Regions from separate parts of the Homo sapiens genome. Here all the other regions are linked to region 2. The links are contacts of gene promoters, found by promoter capture Hi-C in blood cells and fetal thymus (Javierre and others, 2016). All regions are on one chromosome and are shown on one strand. Each heading gives the region's core, a stretch centred on a gene start or on the middle of the fragment in contact. The rest is flanking DNA. Distances are from core to core; before and after follow the strand shown. Region 1 overlaps RNF43 (ring finger protein 43). Region 2 holds the start of LPO (lactoperoxidase). Region 3 overlaps HSF5 (heat shock transcription factor 5). Region 4 overlaps HSF5 (heat shock transcription factor 5).

What was found. Contacts are between HindIII fragments. The CHiCAGO score rates a contact against its expected background, and 5 or more counts as called.
Region 1: a contact is called between a fragment that was not itself captured here and the fragment with the promoter of LPO in region 2, in 2 of 17 cell types (monocytes and M2 macrophages). The highest score is 5.6, in monocytes.
Region 3: a contact is called between a fragment that was not itself captured here and the fragment with the promoter of LPO in region 2, in 3 of 17 cell types (M2 macrophages, M1 macrophages and M0 macrophages). The highest score is 8.2, in M2 macrophages.
Region 4: a contact is called between a fragment that was not itself captured here and the fragment with the promoter of LPO in region 2, in 2 of 17 cell types (M2 macrophages and erythroblasts). The highest score is 5.1, in M2 macrophages.

Annotation. Positions count from the first base shown.
Region 1 is chr17:58,408,495-58,412,717 of GRCh38, reverse strand. All of the region lies in intron 2 of RNF43 (ring finger protein 43), which reads left to right. Among named protein-coding and RNA genes, the nearest start is that of RNF43, 6.9 kb to the left of the region's middle. The HindIII fragment of the contact is 3,991 bases long and covers 1-3,434 here.
Region 2 is chr17:58,235,419-58,239,837 of GRCh38, reverse strand. LPO (lactoperoxidase) reads right to left here and starts at 1,254. Exons shown (of 13, transcript NM_006151.3): 1 at 1,099-1,254. The HindIII fragment of the contact is 687 bases long and covers 1,025-1,711 here.
Region 3 is chr17:58,434,695-58,439,388 of GRCh38, reverse strand. All of the region lies in intron 5 of HSF5 (heat shock transcription factor 5), which reads left to right. Among named protein-coding and RNA genes, the nearest start is that of RNF43, 20 kb to the right of the region's middle. The HindIII fragment of the contact is 3,086 bases long and covers 163-3,248 here.
Region 4 is chr17:58,456,550-58,460,997 of GRCh38, reverse strand. HSF5 (heat shock transcription factor 5) reads left to right here. Exons shown (of 6, transcript NM_001080439.3): 5 at 2,053-2,230. Among named protein-coding and RNA genes, the nearest start is that of HSF5, 30 kb to the left of the region's middle. The HindIII fragment of the contact is 807 bases long and covers 1,023-1,829 here.

The sequences.
Region 1 (4,223 bases), core at 190-2,689, 170 kb before region 2:
TGACTGAATTTTCATTTGTATTATGATTTTAATTTTTTCTTAGACAAAAGGAGACCCCCCCCCTTGACAATGTGCCCCCAATTTGTTGAATAGTAAAATAGACCATAGAATTGCCTCTAAAAGAATTTTGTCTCAACTTTATCTGATGGCTGTATGTATAAGGGCATTAAAAGTCAAGTTTTGATGATTTTTGTTCTGATTCTTATCTCTCAGTCTTTGTGCTTAGGTTTCTCCTTGCCAATAGTAATGATTCATTTTACAAGGTATGTTCAAAATTATAAATTGTAATATTCTTCTAAAAGCGCTAGAAGAAAGTCAAAATAGAAGAGGAAATGGTGTTGCCTTTGCCCTTCTATTTCTCAAGTCCTCTCTTTTCCATTTCAGAACATCTCATTTTAGTCCTGTCCAAATTTTATTATTTTCCCCAAGAGTTGCTTCTTTATATTACTGTATCATTCCAACTCTTTTTGCAGGTTTGTCATTGTCTTTAAAGTATCTAATTCTTAGGTTTCCCCTATATTTGCCAAAATATTTGTCTCTTCCTCTTCTCTGATTTCCTTCCACTCTTTTATTTTTCTTTTGTTTTCCACTGAATTTGTATATTTAGGATTACCTTCCACTGCTATTCTGGATTGGTATTTTAATAGCCATCAAAAATCTAGGTCAAGGAAACTTTTCAGATCTCCTAATTACCTGGCGGTGACTGATAAAAAGGACTAAATGATAGTGATTACTTCTTACTGTTTTTATTCACATTGGAATATATTCTTTCTCTCCTGGTTTATACCATTGTAGAAGGAAAAGTGTTGGAGCTGATTCATTGTCTAATTTCCGGTTTTCTGGTTTGGTTACCTCTTATCAATGTTTGTTTCTTTTATTTCAAGCAATATTATTGCCACCACTTCTAAAAGTGATTACAGTCATATTTTATTTCTCAATCCTGTTTATCATTTATAAATATTATTTCAAGGGACAACTCAAAATTAATCTTTCTTCTCAGAGCAAAAGAGTAAGAGGATCTTAGTGTAGCACAAAGAGGTCACCAATTCTCTATCACACTCTTCCTGCTCAGCTGGTTATCCTGGATTTTCTTAGACTCCAGGATAAAGTTATGATCAAGATTAAAATGTATTCCCCTGAGTCTTCAGACCTACAATGGGAGCAGCAGTAGTTTAGCACTTGGCCAGTAGCAGTGAGCACCTCCTGGAGAAATTCCCCTTTGCACAATGTCTCTGCTTGCCTCTTAATTTTATCTGTTAGTCAACACATAGTTATCCCATCTTTGCATTTTTACATTATTTGTAGGCAGGACCTGAAACTTTAAGTTTTTGGCCAAAGCTAGAGAGACAGTCCTATATTGCAAACTATAGTTGACAAAGTGTCTAAACTGTGACTTGGGGGGCTTGACTTTTAGTTCTACACACAGAAGAATATGCTGACACTAAATATTAATAGTTGTGTGATTTGGGACAAAATAGTGTTTACCTTTCTAGGCTTCAGATTCCCAGGCTGTGAAGTTGAGGAATTAAAATACAATATTGCCAAACTTGTGCTATTTACATGCACTTTACATGTATTAGCTCACTGAATTCTCATAATAACTTTATGAGAGAAGAAATTCAGTACCTTTATTTTTTACATTTTACAGATAAGGAAACTGAGGATTAAAATGTTAATATCTGTCAAAGTATTAACTATTATTATCTAGTAAGTGGTGTTGCTGGAACTTGAACTGCAGAGCCCATGCTTTTCCAGCTCTAAAATTCTGTATATGTAAGAATGCCACAGATGAAGAGAATATCAGTATAGGCTTTGTATAAAAAATTTATTTCCAGAGTAGAAAGGAATGAAAGTGATGAGTACCATTATCTGAGATTGATCCAGAGTGCATCATATCCTGCTACCTTCTAATAATCTCTGTATTTCTTCTATTTCTCTCATTTTGTGTTTCATTTGCAAAGATACTAGTAAATCACAATGTCTGTTTACTCAGTATCTCCCTTATAATGTAACATATTTCATCACCTTTCTCTTCATTTTAAAAGTCTAGGTTAAGTTATCTAATATAGGAACCTGAAATAATAAACACTGACATAGCATGCATTTAACTGGCATTGCTCAAGTTAGAGTTCCTTCTATGAAGAAATTTTGAAATAGAAATTTTGTGATTTTGTTTTGATGCCAGCCTTTAGAAGAAGTACAGAGTAGATATTCAAAGTATGATCAACTCTGTTACTTATGTAAATGAAGGTGCAGAAAATCCAATTAATTAATTACTGACTTTGGAATGTAGTCAGGAGTACACCATCAGACACAGTTCCTCTGTGCGCACAAACATTCTTAGGTGCTTGTCTCCTGTGATCCCAGCTCAGAGCCTTCCTGACATGGCTTTTAGAGTCTTCTATTCTAGACTTGGCCTTGTTGTTAGAAGCCTGGCACCCACAGAATAGAAGGAAGCTGCAGAATATTTTTAATGATAATTTTTCAAGTTAAGAAGATATCTCTTTTATAAGTTATCATCAAACAGATTTATATATATCACAGTTCTGTACTTCAACAAAAATTTGTATCCAACAAAAATTTGTAAGTTCAGCTTCGTACATATCTGGTTAATAGGAGGTAATGAATGAAATATGTCCCTGGCTATTGCTCCCATCAGGCTATTTAGTGTTCATTTGGCAGACTCTCGGTTGGTGGGGGGCGGGGCTGGGGGGGTAGGTACTTCCTTGGGTTTTGTATTATAGTAAAGTGTGTATGTATATATGTGTGTGTGTTGTAATTAGCCCAAAACTAGCCATAATTTACTTTACTTTTTTTGTTTCTTTGTATTTTGAGATAGGGTCTTGTTCTGTCTTCCAGGATGGAGGGCAGTGGCACAGACACGGCTCACTGCAGCCTCAACCTCCTAGTCTCAAGCGATCTGCCCACTTCAGCTCCCCCAAGTAGCTGGGACCACAAGCACGGGGCACCATGCCCAGCTAATATTTCAATTTTTTGTAGAGACAGGGTTTTGCCCTGCTGTCTGCAGTATTAAAGGTATTCCCGGGCCAGGTGTGGTGGCTCATGCCTGTAATCCCAGCACCGTGAGAGGCTAAGGTGGGAGGATCACTTGAGCCCAGGAGTTGGAGACCAGTCTGGGCAACATAGTGAGACCGTCTAAGAAACAAGGTATTCCTGGAGATCATGGTTTTGCTTTTTGTTTTTGTTTTATTAAAAAGTCTTTACATTTTGTTCATTGGAAAGAGTTTATTGGATTTTTTAAATGTTTTTTTCCCTTTTATCCCTTTCAAATTGCTAATTACAGTAGATTTTTTAAAATGTTATAGATGAGTAATATCCTGTTAGGAACCAGAATTGGTAGCAGGATATTGTTAGAGAAGGCTGTGAGAATGATATTCCATTAACTTTATGTAGAAATTTTCTTCCAAGAAGCTTAAAATGATTTGCAATACCTGGAGCCACGTAAGAACAGGTGATATTAACTCCATTTTACAGAAAAGGAAATATATTGGGAAAGAGAAAGAAAGTAAATCATCTAAGAACAAAGTTGCACAGAGACTGAGCCAGTCTGGTTTGCAGGAGATAGGAGAGTAATCAATTTTTAAGGAATCTGAAGATGTGGATTCCTCAGGGGTCAGTTCTACTGAGTGGAAATCCTAAAGGTCTTTTCCTATTTCCCTGAGGACTCATATTCTCCTTTCCTGCTTCATTTTTCTTTACAGAATTATTGACGTGGCATGCTGTAATGTTTCAGTTTTGTAGTTGTCTATCTCCCCACAGTGGAATATGAGTTCTGTGAAAGCAAGGATTTTTGTCTCCTTTGTTCAAAGCTGTATCCCTGAGAATGGCACCTAAGTATACTTACTCCTTGGGCATGGTGGGTACTCAGTAAATATTTATTAATGAATATAATGAATATTGTGGTATTGAGTAACTCTGATGGCTGGGAGATCACTCTAGAATAAAACATGCTTATCACATTTTTAAAGTATGTTATAAGGTGGATTATTTTGAGTGTGTGTGGCTTGATATAGCAGGCTATGTTCCTTTACTCTTCTGACTTACCAACAGCCTCGTGTGTTGTTATTTCAAAATCATAAATATGGCTGTAATCAGTATGTTTAAGGTGCTCCTTTACACAGGATTTTTAAATTTTTTCTTTAGTTTGATAGCTTAAACCTTGCTGTTTAGGATATTTTGGTTTTCCAAGAATGATTTATTCA
Region 2 (4,419 bases), core at 5-2,504:
TCACCTAGGGATTTTGGTAAATGCAGATTCTGACTCAGAAGGTCATAGAAGGGGCCTGAAAGTCTGCATTTCCAGTAAGCTCCAGGTGATGATGATGTTGCTGGTCTGCAGACCACACTCTGAGTACCAAGGCCTTCCAGACTTTGGTTCTCAATGTCGCTGAGCAGTCACCAAGGAGATAGGGGGAAGGCCTGAGAAGGGATGAAGTCAGTGAGATTCTCTTCCATGATTGTAAAGAGCCCTGTGGAGGGTGGTGGAGTGAGCCAATAGGAAAGCCATAATTCTTGCCCCATCACCTGCAGGAACACTCTCTTGATCTTTTGAGTGACTCCAAGATCAGGATGAGAATGAAGAGATAGCTCTTATCAAGCCCTCTAGAGCGGAAATAATCTACTTCAACTGAAAGATTTGAGGCACACAATTGCATAAAAAACAAATATAATTTAACCACCCCATTCCCCCAAAATGAAGCCTGCCTACTACCGCTGCATACAGGTCACACACCTGCTTGAGAGCCAGGTGTCCACAGGGCACTTAAGACAGCTAGGACTAGACATTGAGGGCAAACTAGATGGTCGGATCTGCTGCAGATGGCAGGCATGAGATGCTGGAAATGAGATGAAGACCTGACAGCTCCGGCTTAGGGAACCCCTTAAAACACTGCAAAATCTCCACTATAGTGGAGAGGCCAGATTTCATCACACTGTCTCAAGAACAGCACAGGGAGCACCATTCTGTCACTGTTTTCCCCCAAATTCCTGTGTGACTCTGGACACATTAAATTGCTTAAGTCTCAGTTCCTAAACAAGGTGGATAAGAGAGGTCTATGGTACCTTCCAGCCCTAAGAGTTTATGATTCTCTGACATAGTTTTCAGACACAGAAAAGCCTTTTTCCCCCACAGTGGTGGGGGGAGGCTTAATTACATTCTCTCTTATACCAAACAAGAGGAGTGTGCCATGGGGTGGCTAAAGCTGGCACCAGAAAGTGCCTGATAGAGACAAGTCTAAATCCAGTGTTAAGCTTTCTGAGAAGACGTTAGGAAATTTCATCATCAACTTTGCAGAAACCAGGAAAGATGAAAGTTGACGAGTCTTACCTGCCCAGTGCCTTGTCTTTTCACGGCAGCCAGGGAGTTGCTCTGCTTGGAGGAGCTGGTCTTTTATACCTTCCAGCAAGAATTCACTTCTGGGAAAGGCCCAGAAGGAAAGATTTTGATGTGGCTTGGAGGAGACGCTGAGGCTTAGCAGGAAAGACTGTGTGACTCCGGGCAGATACACCAGGAAACTGCAGAATGGCAGGGATTGGTTGATGCAATAGCACTGACTGTGGGTGAAGCAACTCCTCTTTCCATTTTCTAGCTTAAATGCATGATCCTGATCTAGTTCCGGAAGGCAAAAACTGCATGCCCTGAGCACATTTGTCCCTTTTAAGCTCCTAATGGGATCCGAATAGCTCTTAGAATTATGAACAATTATTAGGTTGGTGCAAAAGTATTGCAAAAACCGCAATTACTTTTGCACCTAGCTAAATGGTTCTCCTCCCCATTCATATATTCACTGCCCTTTGATCCCTCCCTTACATTCCACCCAATTTACTGTGGAATCCAGTGGATTCATCTTTTGGATTTAAAGTGATCAATAAACATTAATTTTTTTGGTCAAAATTTCAAAATACTTTTGGCCACCAAAGGGTGAGAAGAGCCCTAAGCTTTCATAGTGGGTTGCAGTCCCTGCCTCTGCCATTGTATGGCTCTAGGCAAGTCACTTCACCTTCTGGTGTCTCAAATTTTCTAGTATTGAAATCAATGGTTGGTTTTGGTGATTATTATGATTCTATGACTTCATGCCTTCTATAGGGTGACCCATTTAAAAAACTCCAGAATCTGGGAGGCCAAGGTGGGTGGATCACTTGAGGTCAGGAGTTGGAGACCAGCCCAGCCAACATGGTGAAACCCTGTCTCTACTAAAAACACAAAAATTAACCAGGCATGGAGGTGCATACCTGTAATCCCAGCTACCTGGGAGGCTGAGGTGGGAGAATCACTTGAACCTGGGAGGCAGGGGTTGCAGTGAGCCAAGATCATGCCATTGCACTCCAGCCTGGGTGACAGGACGAGACTCTGTCTCAACAAAACGAAACAAAACAAAACCACCACTATCGTATAAATTATTGACCTAAAGCTCAAGCATAATGTTACATACCTTTCCTACCTCAATGACTTTGGAAATTCAAGTTCATTAGATTCATACAAGAAGGAAAAAGGAAGATTCCGAGAAAACAAAATTTCATGAAAGTATATTTTACAGACAGACAATTTAAAACATAATAAGCCTCTTTATGAAATTATACTTTGAGTTGAAAATACTCTGGGAGCAACTGTCAGAAATTTATCAACCCCAAAACAGACTTCTTGGTTCGCCTTCAAAAAAGTGATATTTCCTTTCTCTAGATGGTGGAATATATCTAAAAACTACTTCTCTCGTGATGAATCCAGGCAAATAAGCTGGGCATCTCGGAAGAAGGCAGCTGTCCAGGAGAGGTGAATGAGACATCAGGCTCTTCTTGTTTTCTTTGAAACACACTTCAGCTCCTTAGCCAAGCATTGTTTTTCTGTGTCTGACCATTCCCTGAACTTTGGCACATGTTTCTCAAGGTTCTTGCCTCTGAGTTTTATGCTTAATATGTTCAGGAAGCTGTGTTGTTAGGCAGATCTTGACCTAGTTGGTTCTGAATAATCTGAAGATGGAACTTCCTTTTAGAAGACCCTATGGGATAACATTGCTTCCTATGTACAAAATATAGTGACTTATTGGTCAGGGTAACAGCAAAATACAGGTCTGATTATTCCCGGGTTTTATCATGTTATGACATGATATGATATGTCCTAGCTTTGGTCTTTCTGTAATGGGTCAAATAGGATGGGGCAGTGTCAGCTCCAGCCCAGTAAGGACCTTCCTTGATATTGGCCGTGAAGCACACCTGGAGGCAGTCAATCTGACAGTGACATGCCTATTGTTCTATAGCTAATTTTTATTTGAGAGCTTTGCTGACATGTGATGACATGTTTTCATGGGTTTATCTCAGTCTAGTCAAATCTGTAGCACAGGTAGATGTCTTCCCATGTGGGAATGGCAAATTGGCCTGAGAAATGGAGAGTGGAAGGCAGAAAGTTCAGGAGAAAGCTAAAAAGGCCAATAGCTTCTCATATGTCAGTGCAGAGTCCAAGATATTTTAGCAAAAGCAGCAGCAGCAGGGAGTACCCAATGAAGATAAGGTCTATCGCTGGCACATGACAGTACACACACCCACACACACACACAAACATGCACACATACTTCCCAGGAACACACAGTTTATAAATGAGACTGATTTTGGACATAGCTGGCTCACCTCTGTCGCCTTCTAGAATTAGAATGCTGCATGCTGCATACACAACCTTTGGTTGATCCAAAGGATACTCATGGTTGGTAACACAGTGACCATTCTATTTGTGTAAGGTGATTGTAGCTCTCACACTGGGCCCATGTCAGGTGCTCTCTCCCATGGGCGCATAGCTAGTCCCTTCCTTAGCTGTCTGTTTTCACCTTTGTCTGCTGGCTTGGCTGTCATTCATAGCTGGGCAGGGTTGTTTTTTTTCTTTTCTTTCCTGGCTAAAATGCATTTCCTTTTGTTGGTTTCCTAGAACACCAAACAAACAGACTTCTTGTCCCAAGGGTGGCTCTATATGCCCATGTTTACCCCTTTTGGGATTCATCCACTAGTTCTACCCCAGAGAAGGGAGGAACCCAGGCACTCTGGCTTAAGCTGTCCCTGGCCTCTGGAGGGGTGTGCAGATGGCAGAGCTTCTCTGAATGGTGTCCCAGGGCGGCATGAGCTGTTGGAAGGGATGGGGACATTGCCAGGCAGCCCCCTTTGGAGAGAGAGGAGGGATTTATAGATGAGAAAAAGAAATATTTGGGATGGGTTGTATGTCTCTCTAGCAGACAGGAGGAGGCTCTGTTATCTTCTCCTAGCAACTTTTTTTTTTTTCTGAGACAAGGTCTCACTCTGCCTCCCAGGCTAGAGTGCAGTGGTGCAACCACCAGTCAGTGCAAGGGCTCACGCCATCCTCCCACCTCAGCCTCCCAAGTAGCTGGGACTACAGGTATGCACCACCATTCCCTACTAGTTTTTAATTTTTTGTAGAGACAGGGTTTCCCTATGTTACCCAGACTAGTCTCGAACTCCTGGGCTCAAGTGATCCTCCTGCCTTGGCTTCCCAAAGTGCTAGGATTACAGGCATGAGCCACTGAGCCCGGCCTCCTAGTATTTTTTAGTGGGAGAATTGATCTGATGCTTGGTAGCTTCTGAGATTGGCATAACACAAGGGTTCCAACTGGCAAACCTATGATCAATGAATTTTTCCACTTAGCCACAG
Region 3 (4,694 bases), core at 456-2,955, 200 kb before region 2:
TCTGAGGATACTAAATGGAAGGGCTGGTTTTGAAGTTGTTTCCCCACAACATATGTCAGTTTCCTCTACGTTCTTTCTGGTTTTTTTTTTTGGTTGTTGTTGTTTTTGTTTTTTTTTTCCATTGGCTTTCTTCCCTATTCAAGAATGGAGCATTAAAAAGCTTACAGAAGCTCTGTTGACAAGATTTGTCAACTGTTGGGCTTAGCTTAATGTTAATCAGCATGTACCACCAATTTTTTTTATTTATTATTATTTTTTTTTTGAGGCAGGGTCTCACTCTGTTGCCTAGTCTGGCACGATCATAGCTCACTGCAGCCTTGATCTCTGGGCTAAAGTGATCCTCCCACCTCAACCAACCTACCCCCAACCCCCCAAAGAAGTAGCTGGGACTACAGGCACATGCCACCACACCTAGCTGATTTTTTTTTACTTTTCAAAGAGATGGAGTCTCACTGTGTTGCCCAGGCTGATCTCCAACTCCTGGTCTCAAGCAATCCTCCCAACTTAGCCTCCCAAAGTGCTGGGATTACAGGTGTCAGCCACCATGCCTGGCCTTAAGGCACTTCTTAGTGCAACTTCAGGTTGGGGTATTGAAGCAGTTGGATTCATGACCCAGTTACTGAACTCTAGTCAATAAGTTGTCAACCACAGGCAGTCAAATATTCCCTTCCATCTCTGCTTGCACACTAGGTACCTCTAGCCTGAGTTTATCTCTTCTTTTAGGGCTTTGCTGAATGTGTCAAGAAATAGTCAACACCTTGTGATTTTTGTCAATCTTTTCCCCCATGGTTGTATGTTCACTTGGCATGTGTGGTCTGACTTCCATGGTGTCACAGGTAATGATTTTACCAAATATGTTGGCATGGATAACAAAGATCACCAACATTCTAGCTTGCTGTGTCCTAACCATGTGCTGCCTGACTGCAAAGCCAGTAGCACATATAATCATGTATCCCTTAATGACAGGAATGTATTCTGAGAACTATGTCATTAGTTAATGTTATTGTTTTATAAACATTGTGAATTGTACTTACACAAACCTAGATGATGTTGCCTACTACATACCTAGGCTGTATAGTATAGCCTATTGCTTCTAGGCTACAAACCCTTACAGCATGTTACTGTATTGAATATTGTAAGCAATTGTAATACAGTGGTATTTGTGTATCTAAACATAGCTAAGCATAGAAATGGTACAGTAAAAATAGAGTACAATCTTACAGAATCATCATCATCTATATGGTCTGTCACTGACCAAAATCAACCAATTATTTTTTTTTTTGGCAATTTGATTGGCAAAACTTTAACTGTTGATAATATCCAGCTTTGATAAAGGTATAGAGAAAAGGAACCTTCTCTATGCTGTAATTGGAATGTAAATTCGTATAGCCCTATAAAGGACAATTGGCATTATTTATAGATAACTAAAATGCTTATGAGTTTTGACTCAGGAACTCTACTCCTGGGAATCTCTCCTGTAGAAATGTGTATATTCCCAAAGGTACTCAAAATAAGTTTGCTATAGTGTTATTTATAATAGCAAAAATTTGAGAAAAGCATAAATGCCTGACAGTGGGGAACCAGATACATTATGACATCTACATAATAAAATACTGTGCAACCATTTAAGAAACTGAAGTAGCTTGATGTGTTGTGACCTGGAAAGACAGTAAGTGTTCATAATGTGTTCAGCAAATGGGTAAGTTGCAACACAATATGTCTAGCACAACCCCCTTTCTAGAAAGAAAGAAAAGAAAGTATATGCTGTAAAATTATAGAAAAAAGTCTGGAGATATACGATATAGCTGATAAATATAACACTAGTTATCTCTCAGAAGATAGAATGTATGGGTGCAGGGGTATGCTTAACTTCTCAATTTGTATATGTATATATAATAGGATTACGGGAAATTTTCACCATCTGTATTCTTCTATGTTTTTCAAATTTTAAAAAATCTAAAAATACTAAAAGTAGTTTAAATACTTGAAGTGTTCCTATAGCAGGAATATAAAAGCCTTAAAGTAATAGAAATGAACAATTTCAGAGTGTTTTTAAAAAATATTTATATCCCAGATAGTAAACTGACTTTTGAGGTTTAGATATGATTGACTCAAGATAAACTTACCCTATACCAAGAATGCCTTTCTAAGATTTCTGAGACTTTCTAGGGTTCACAGTAGCTTTTATTTTTGAGTTTCTGCTTAAATGTAATTCCAGACTTGTCCATATCTGACCTCCCAGGGCTGTTCTTATCTGTCTGTTCCATGCTATACCAGATGCAGAACTTGGCCCACTTTCTTTGACCTCTTCCTCCCTTTAAGCATTATGCTAGGCATGTGTATGTGTAGCACACTTTTATGAAGATGTCGGGAGGCAGAAATACCGACAGAAATATTTAGAATACCGCAAAAATGGAATTAAAAGGCCCCCAGTCACTTTACGGCATCTTTCCTTGTCACTAGTCAATATGGTCCTCTGCCATGTTGCTTTCTTTCCTTGTACTAGCACCAGACCTTCGTTTCTCTGCTTTCTGTTGTTGTTGTTGTTATGGTTGGTTTTTTTTTTCTGCTCTTTCCCCAGGTGCTGAATTCCTGTGTTTTACTTAGGCAAAGAAGGTTAGGTATCTCTTCTATTTTTTGATGTTTTTAAGGCGTCATTTTTCCCAACCAGAACAATCTATCGAGACATATTCCTCAACAAAGACAATTACCTCCCTGAGAGGAACTCTGGTGCCTGCTGTTAAAAAAATAATTTCCTCTCTTTCACTACATGTTATGGTTATAAGTGTAACTGATAAAATAATTAGCACAGTAATTATCTTTATTAACTCTTCCTGTTGTTTTTTTTTTCTAAGTAAAGCCTTATCCTTTGGTCAGTGCAGTTAATAGATGAGTCTTAATTGATGTTGGCTTCCTGCTGTGAAACATAAGAGTTGTGAAATCTTGGCATCATTATGACACCTAATCACATTTTCATTTTATTATGGACAAGAGGAAAATGAGTTATGATTAAGCTAGAACCTCTCTGCTAAAAAAAAAAAAAGTTTTTTAATTAAAGTGTAGGCAGAAATACAATTCATGAAGTTGCAAATGATTCTGCTCTGATAGACCTTGGCCTAGCAGTTGGTCTATGAAAACATGGCTATATGTAAGGTCCCATGGCATTAAGAGACCTTAACCAAAGTCAATGTGTGAGATTAATATACTGCTCATTAAAAACAGTACAGCATATGGTTAGAAAGAAAGCTTTTGGTGTTAGAAAAACCTGCATTAAAACCTGGATTCTGCTCTTTACTGTGTGACCTTGGACGTGTTTACCTAACTGAGCTTTGGTGTCCTCATCTGCAAAATGAGGAATATGGATTATAATGATATAAATCATAGAACTGGCTTAGTATTATGCTGGGTTACATAGTAAGTAGTCCATACATAGTAGCAATAGAATTTTAGCTATTTTTATAACATTTACTTTTTTTTTTTTTTTTTTTTTGAGATGGAGTCTCGCTCTGTCGCCCAGGCTGCGGTGCAGTGGCGTGATCTTGGCTCACTACAAGCTCCACCTCCCAGGTTCACACCATTCTCCTGCCTCAGCCTCCCGAGTAGCTGGGACTACAGGCGCCCGCCACCATGCCCGGCTAATTTTTTGTATATTTAGTAGAGATGGGGTTTCACCATGTTAGCCAGGATGGTCTCGATCTCCTGCTCGCCTCAGCCTCCCAAAGTGCTGGGATTACAGGCATGAGCCACAGCGCCCAGCCAATATTTACTGTTCTTATGTTTATTACCACTGGTTACTTTTCAGATGGCTAGTCTCTATTTATTTATTTATTTGTTTATTTATTGAGCTGGAATCTCACTCTGTTGCCTAGGCTGGAGTGCAGTGGCGTGATCTCGACTCACTGCAACCTCCGCCTCCTGGGTTCAAGCGATTCTCGTGCTTCAGCCTCCCAAATAGCTGAGACTACAGGCATGAGCCACCACACAACTGATTTTTGTATTTTTAGTAGAGATGGGGTCTTGCCATGTTGGCCAGGTTGGTCTTGAACTCCTGACCTCAGGTGATCTACCCACCTTGGCCTCCCAAAGTGCTGGGATTACAGGCATGAGCTACTGCACCCCGCCTTAGTCTCACTTTAAATTCACGTAGGCTGTCAGTGTTGCAGCAGTCCTATAATATTTTCTAGTCAATATATTCCCCATTCTCCAAAGCCACTCTATTATATCCTGTCCTCTCTGCTCCGTTTCCAACACTCCTCCTCTCTCTTCATTCGTGGCTGTGACCCTGTTTTATATCTTACTGAGAAAATAGAAGCAGCTAGAATGAAGCTTTCATATCTTCCCACCAACATATTTATCAGTCTACTTCCAATTGTAACCCTACACGCTGCCTTTCCTTCTGTTATAATGGAAAAGGGCCAGTCCTTTCATTTGTATACAGAATCCTGTCCCCTTTGGTGTACTCACAGACTTAGGACCTACTGCTATCCCCCTTACTCTTCAATAATCACATTGTATCTTTATTTTTGCTTTCCCCCTAAGGCAGAGTCTTCCTCTGTCATCCACGCTGGAGTGTAGTGGTGTGAATACAGCTCACTGCAACCTCGACTTCCCGGCTCAAGCAATCCTCCCATCTCAGCCTCCTGAGTAACTGGGACCACAGGCTCATGCCACCATGCCCAGCTAATTTTTTTAAT
Region 4 (4,448 bases), core at 177-2,676, 220 kb before region 2:
ATCCGCCCACCTCGGCCTCCCAAAGTGCTGGGATTACAGGCGTGAGCCACTGCACCTGGCCCCATTATGTTTTAAATATATTTGTAGAACACAGAATTTGTCTTTGTTCCTTCATAGTCACATCTGAAATATTTCAGATCTTAAAACTGCACTTGTACACAGTAACTTTTTCATTAACAAATATATCTTGGCCAGGCGCAGTGGCTCACGTCTGTAATCCCAGCACTTTGGGAGGCCGAGGCGGACAGATCATGAGGTCAGGAGATCGAGACCATCCTGGTTAACACGGTGAAACCCTGTCTCTACTAAAAATACAAAAAATTAGCCGGGCGTGGTGGTGGGTGCCTGTAGTCCCAGCTACTCGGGAGGCTGAGGCAGGAGAATGGCATGAACCCAGGAGGTGGAGCTTGTGGCGAGCTGAGATCGCGCCACTGCACTCCAGCCTGGGCGACAGAGCGAGACTCCGTCTCAAAAAAAAAAAAAGTATGTGTGTGTGTGTGTGTGTGTGTGTGTGTGTGTATATATATGTATATAAAGCTGTGTTTTAAACTTTTTATTTCATTATATAATTTTATTTTAAAATAAATTCATAAAGAAATGGAGTATTTCAGAAGTTGATCAACTTGACAAAGGGATTTACATTCCAAAGAAAATTTAGGAACTGTAAGAAAGAAACTTAGGCTAGGCATAGTAGCTTATGCCTGTAATTCTAGCACCTTTGGAAGCTGAGGTGGGAGGATCGCTTGAACCCAGGAAGTCCAGACTGGTCTGGGCAACATAGTGAGAGTCTATCCCTACAAAAACATTTTAAAAATTAGCTTGGTGTGGTGGCATACACCTGTGTCCTAGGTACTTGGGAGGCTGAGGTGGGAGGATAGCTTGAGCCTGGGAGGTCAAGGCTGTAGTGAGCCGTGATCACACCACTACACTCCAGCCTGGGCAACAGAATGAGACCCTGTCTGAAAGAAAGAAATTTGTATTTTATAAACAGGGCAGATATAGATTTTATAGGGGCTAAAGCTTATACAATTTTGAGGGCCTCTTTAAGAGAAAGAATACAAAATTAGTAGAATAAAGTATCCACATCCCACTGAAACCATCTAACAGGATCATGCCTATGGCCATTCCAACAGGAGAGGAAGTCTGATAGAACATATTCTACAGAGAAAAAAGATGGTTTTAACCAATCATGGTGAAACTATCTTACTTTTGGTCAGGTGTGGTGGCTCACGTCTGTAAACCCAGTGCTTTGGGAGGCCCAGGTGGAAAGATCCCCTGAGACCAGGAGTTACCAGCCTGGGCAACATAGCGAGACCCTGTCTCTACAAAAAAACCTTTTTTTTTTTTTTTTGAGATGTAGTCTCACTCTGTTGCCCAGGCTGGAGTGCAGTGGTACAATCTCGGCTCACTGCAACCTCCATCTCCTGGGTTCAAGCGATTCTCCTGCCTCAGCCTCCCGAATAGCTGGGATTACAGGCACCTGCTACCACGCCCGGCTAATTTTTTGTATTTTTGGTAGAGACAGGGTTTCACCATGCTGGCCAGGCTGGTCGAGAACTCCTGACCTCATGATCTGCCCACCTTGGCCTCCCAAAGTGCTGGGATTACAGCTGTGAGCTACCGCGCCCGGCCTACAAAAAAACTTTTTAAAAATTAGCTAATACCTGTAGTCCTAGCTGCTCAGGAGGATCACTTGAGCCCATGAGCTCGAGGTTACAGTGAGCTATGATTGTACCACTGTACTCCCGCCTGGACAACAATGTGAGACCCTGCCTTAAAACAAAAAAAAAAACCTGTACTTTTGTAAGTTAAAAAAAAATCAACAAGCTTCATGGTAGATATTCCTCTGATCATAAGTAAATGTTTTAGCTCCATATACATTTTAATAGTTTGTGTAGGGAGAAAGGTATAGTATCAATAATAAGAATGAAAAGCCTTATAAGCTTGTTTGTTGGATCATGTTCCCATAATAGAACTCCTCTGATAAAATATCTTAACTTTTAGCAGATATTTGGAGGAAATCTCAAATAATGAATGGGTTTAATATTTTAGGTGGATGCCAACATAAAATGCCAGACCAGTTCACGTGAGAATATCTTGCCGTCAGAACAGATGGGATTCCTCATTTCAGAAATGGGGCCTGCTAGCAAGCCTAGTGAAGACACAGGTTTAGCCACTCCAGCCAGATACAGAGAGCACAGAAGCAACTCACAACAAGGAAAGTCCCCTGGTAAGGATTATTGTGCTCTAGAATGCCAGAAGTAGAATCACGCTGTAGAATTAATATATGAATGACATTTTTTCTGGGTCTCCATTTATTATTCATAATTGTATTAGACCTGTCACATTGCTGTTTTTACATAGCTGTAATTTTAACTCTATATTTGTTCTTAATTATTGTTGTGAAGTATGTAATAGTTATTTTCTTAATATTGCATATAATGATTTGGGCTTTGAAAATATAGAACATATTAAGAATAAGCAAAGGAATTTAGATTATTTAACTTGGAGAAGGCAAGGATGAAGGATGATTTAATAAGTATCCTCAGATGCCAGACTTCGAAATTGTAGTTGTACTTACTCTGTTATTAACAGACTCTAGGACAAGAGGGCATGCATTTATATTGTGACAAGAGAAAATCAGATGGAAATTTAGGATATTATCCTGAGCGCATTTTAAAGATACTATAAAGTATGACCCTATACCAATGAATGGTTTGTTATTCTTGTGGTTTGTAAGAACCCAGAATAAGTGATTGTTTTAGGCACATACAGTTGATTCTAATAAGACAAAATCATATTTTTTGAAGAAATAGTAACATCTAATAAAACATGTGTCTCATATCATCCAAAAATCAAGTTACCAAAGTCTGCAGTGGACAATTTTAATATTCTAGAATTATGTTCATGTCAGGGGCATGCAGTGCAGGCAGAATGACAGTGTAGGTTAAAATGACAGACCATCATTTTAACCTACAATAATTTGAAAAATGTTGAGAACTTCTGTGAGAATTTTTCCAAAAAGTAAATTAATAGTGATATGATCATGGTGTAGCTCAGACTCATAGGGTTCTTTCTGCAAAATGTCTTTTAGGCTAAAAACTGTCTATCATTTATTCACTAAATTTAGCTTGCACACTTTTAGTTGATTATATTTTCCAATCCATAATTAAAGACTAAAGATTTCTTACCACTGAAGGTGTTTAACACAATGGCATGAGCCTTGAAGGCAATTTAGATGAGAGAAAGGCAGGAACTAACATTTACCGTATCCATTTTTGTGCCATAGGACAAATCTGTTGGAAGTGGCATTGTCATTTTAAACATCAGGAAATTTAGGCTTAGAGTAAGTAACTTGTTCAAAGTCACATATAAATTTGTTTTATTTTTTCATTTTTTAGAGACAGAGTCTTTCTCTGTTGCCCGGGCTAGAATGCAGTGGCGCATCTTGGCTCACTGCAGCCTCCACCTCATAGATTCCAGCAATTCTCATGGCTCAGCCTCCCGAGTAGCTGGGACTACAGGTGCGTGGCACCACACCCGGCTAATTTTTGTATTTTTAGTAGAGATGGGGTTTCACCATGTTGGCCAGGCTGGTCTTGAACTCCTGGCCTCAAGTGATCCACCCACCTCGGCCTCCTAAAGTGCTGGGATTACAGGCATGAGCCACCATGCCTGGCCCTTTTTTCTTTTCTTTCCTTTTCCTTTTCTTTATTATTATTATTATTTTTTTTTTCTGAGACAGAGTCTTGCTCTGTTGCCCGGGCTGTAGTGCAATGGCGTGATCTTGGCTCACTGCAACTTCCACCTCCCAGGTTTAAGTGATTCTCCTGCCTCAGCCTCCTGAGTAGCTGGGATTACAGGCACACTCCACCACGACTAGCTAATTTTTGTATTTTTAGCAGAGGCAAGGTTTCCGCCATGTTGGCCAGGCTGGTCTTGAACTCCTGACCTCAGGTGATCTGCCTGCCTCGGCCTCCCACAGTGCTGGGATTGCAGGCATGAGCCACTGCACCCAGCTGCCTTTTTTCATTTTTTATAGAGATGGGGTCTCACTATGTTGCCCAGGCTGGTCTTGCACTCCTAGGCTCAAGCAGTCCTCCTGCCTTGACCTCTCAAAGTGCTGGGATTATGAGCATGAGCCACCATGCATGGCCAGTCACATATAAACTAATATTGCTAATATCCTACCCTAAGTTGTCTGCCTGTAGAGCACATATTCTTTCCTTTTAATTTTTTATTGTGTTGAAGAACATGTAACATAAAATTTATCATTTTAACCATTTTTATTTTTAATTTATAATTTAAATATAATTGTACATATTTATGAGGTACAATGTGATTTTTTGACACATGTATATGTAGTGTAATGATCAAATTGAGATAATTACCATATCCATCACTCTAAACATTTATCATTTCTTTGTGGTGATAACACTCTAAACCTT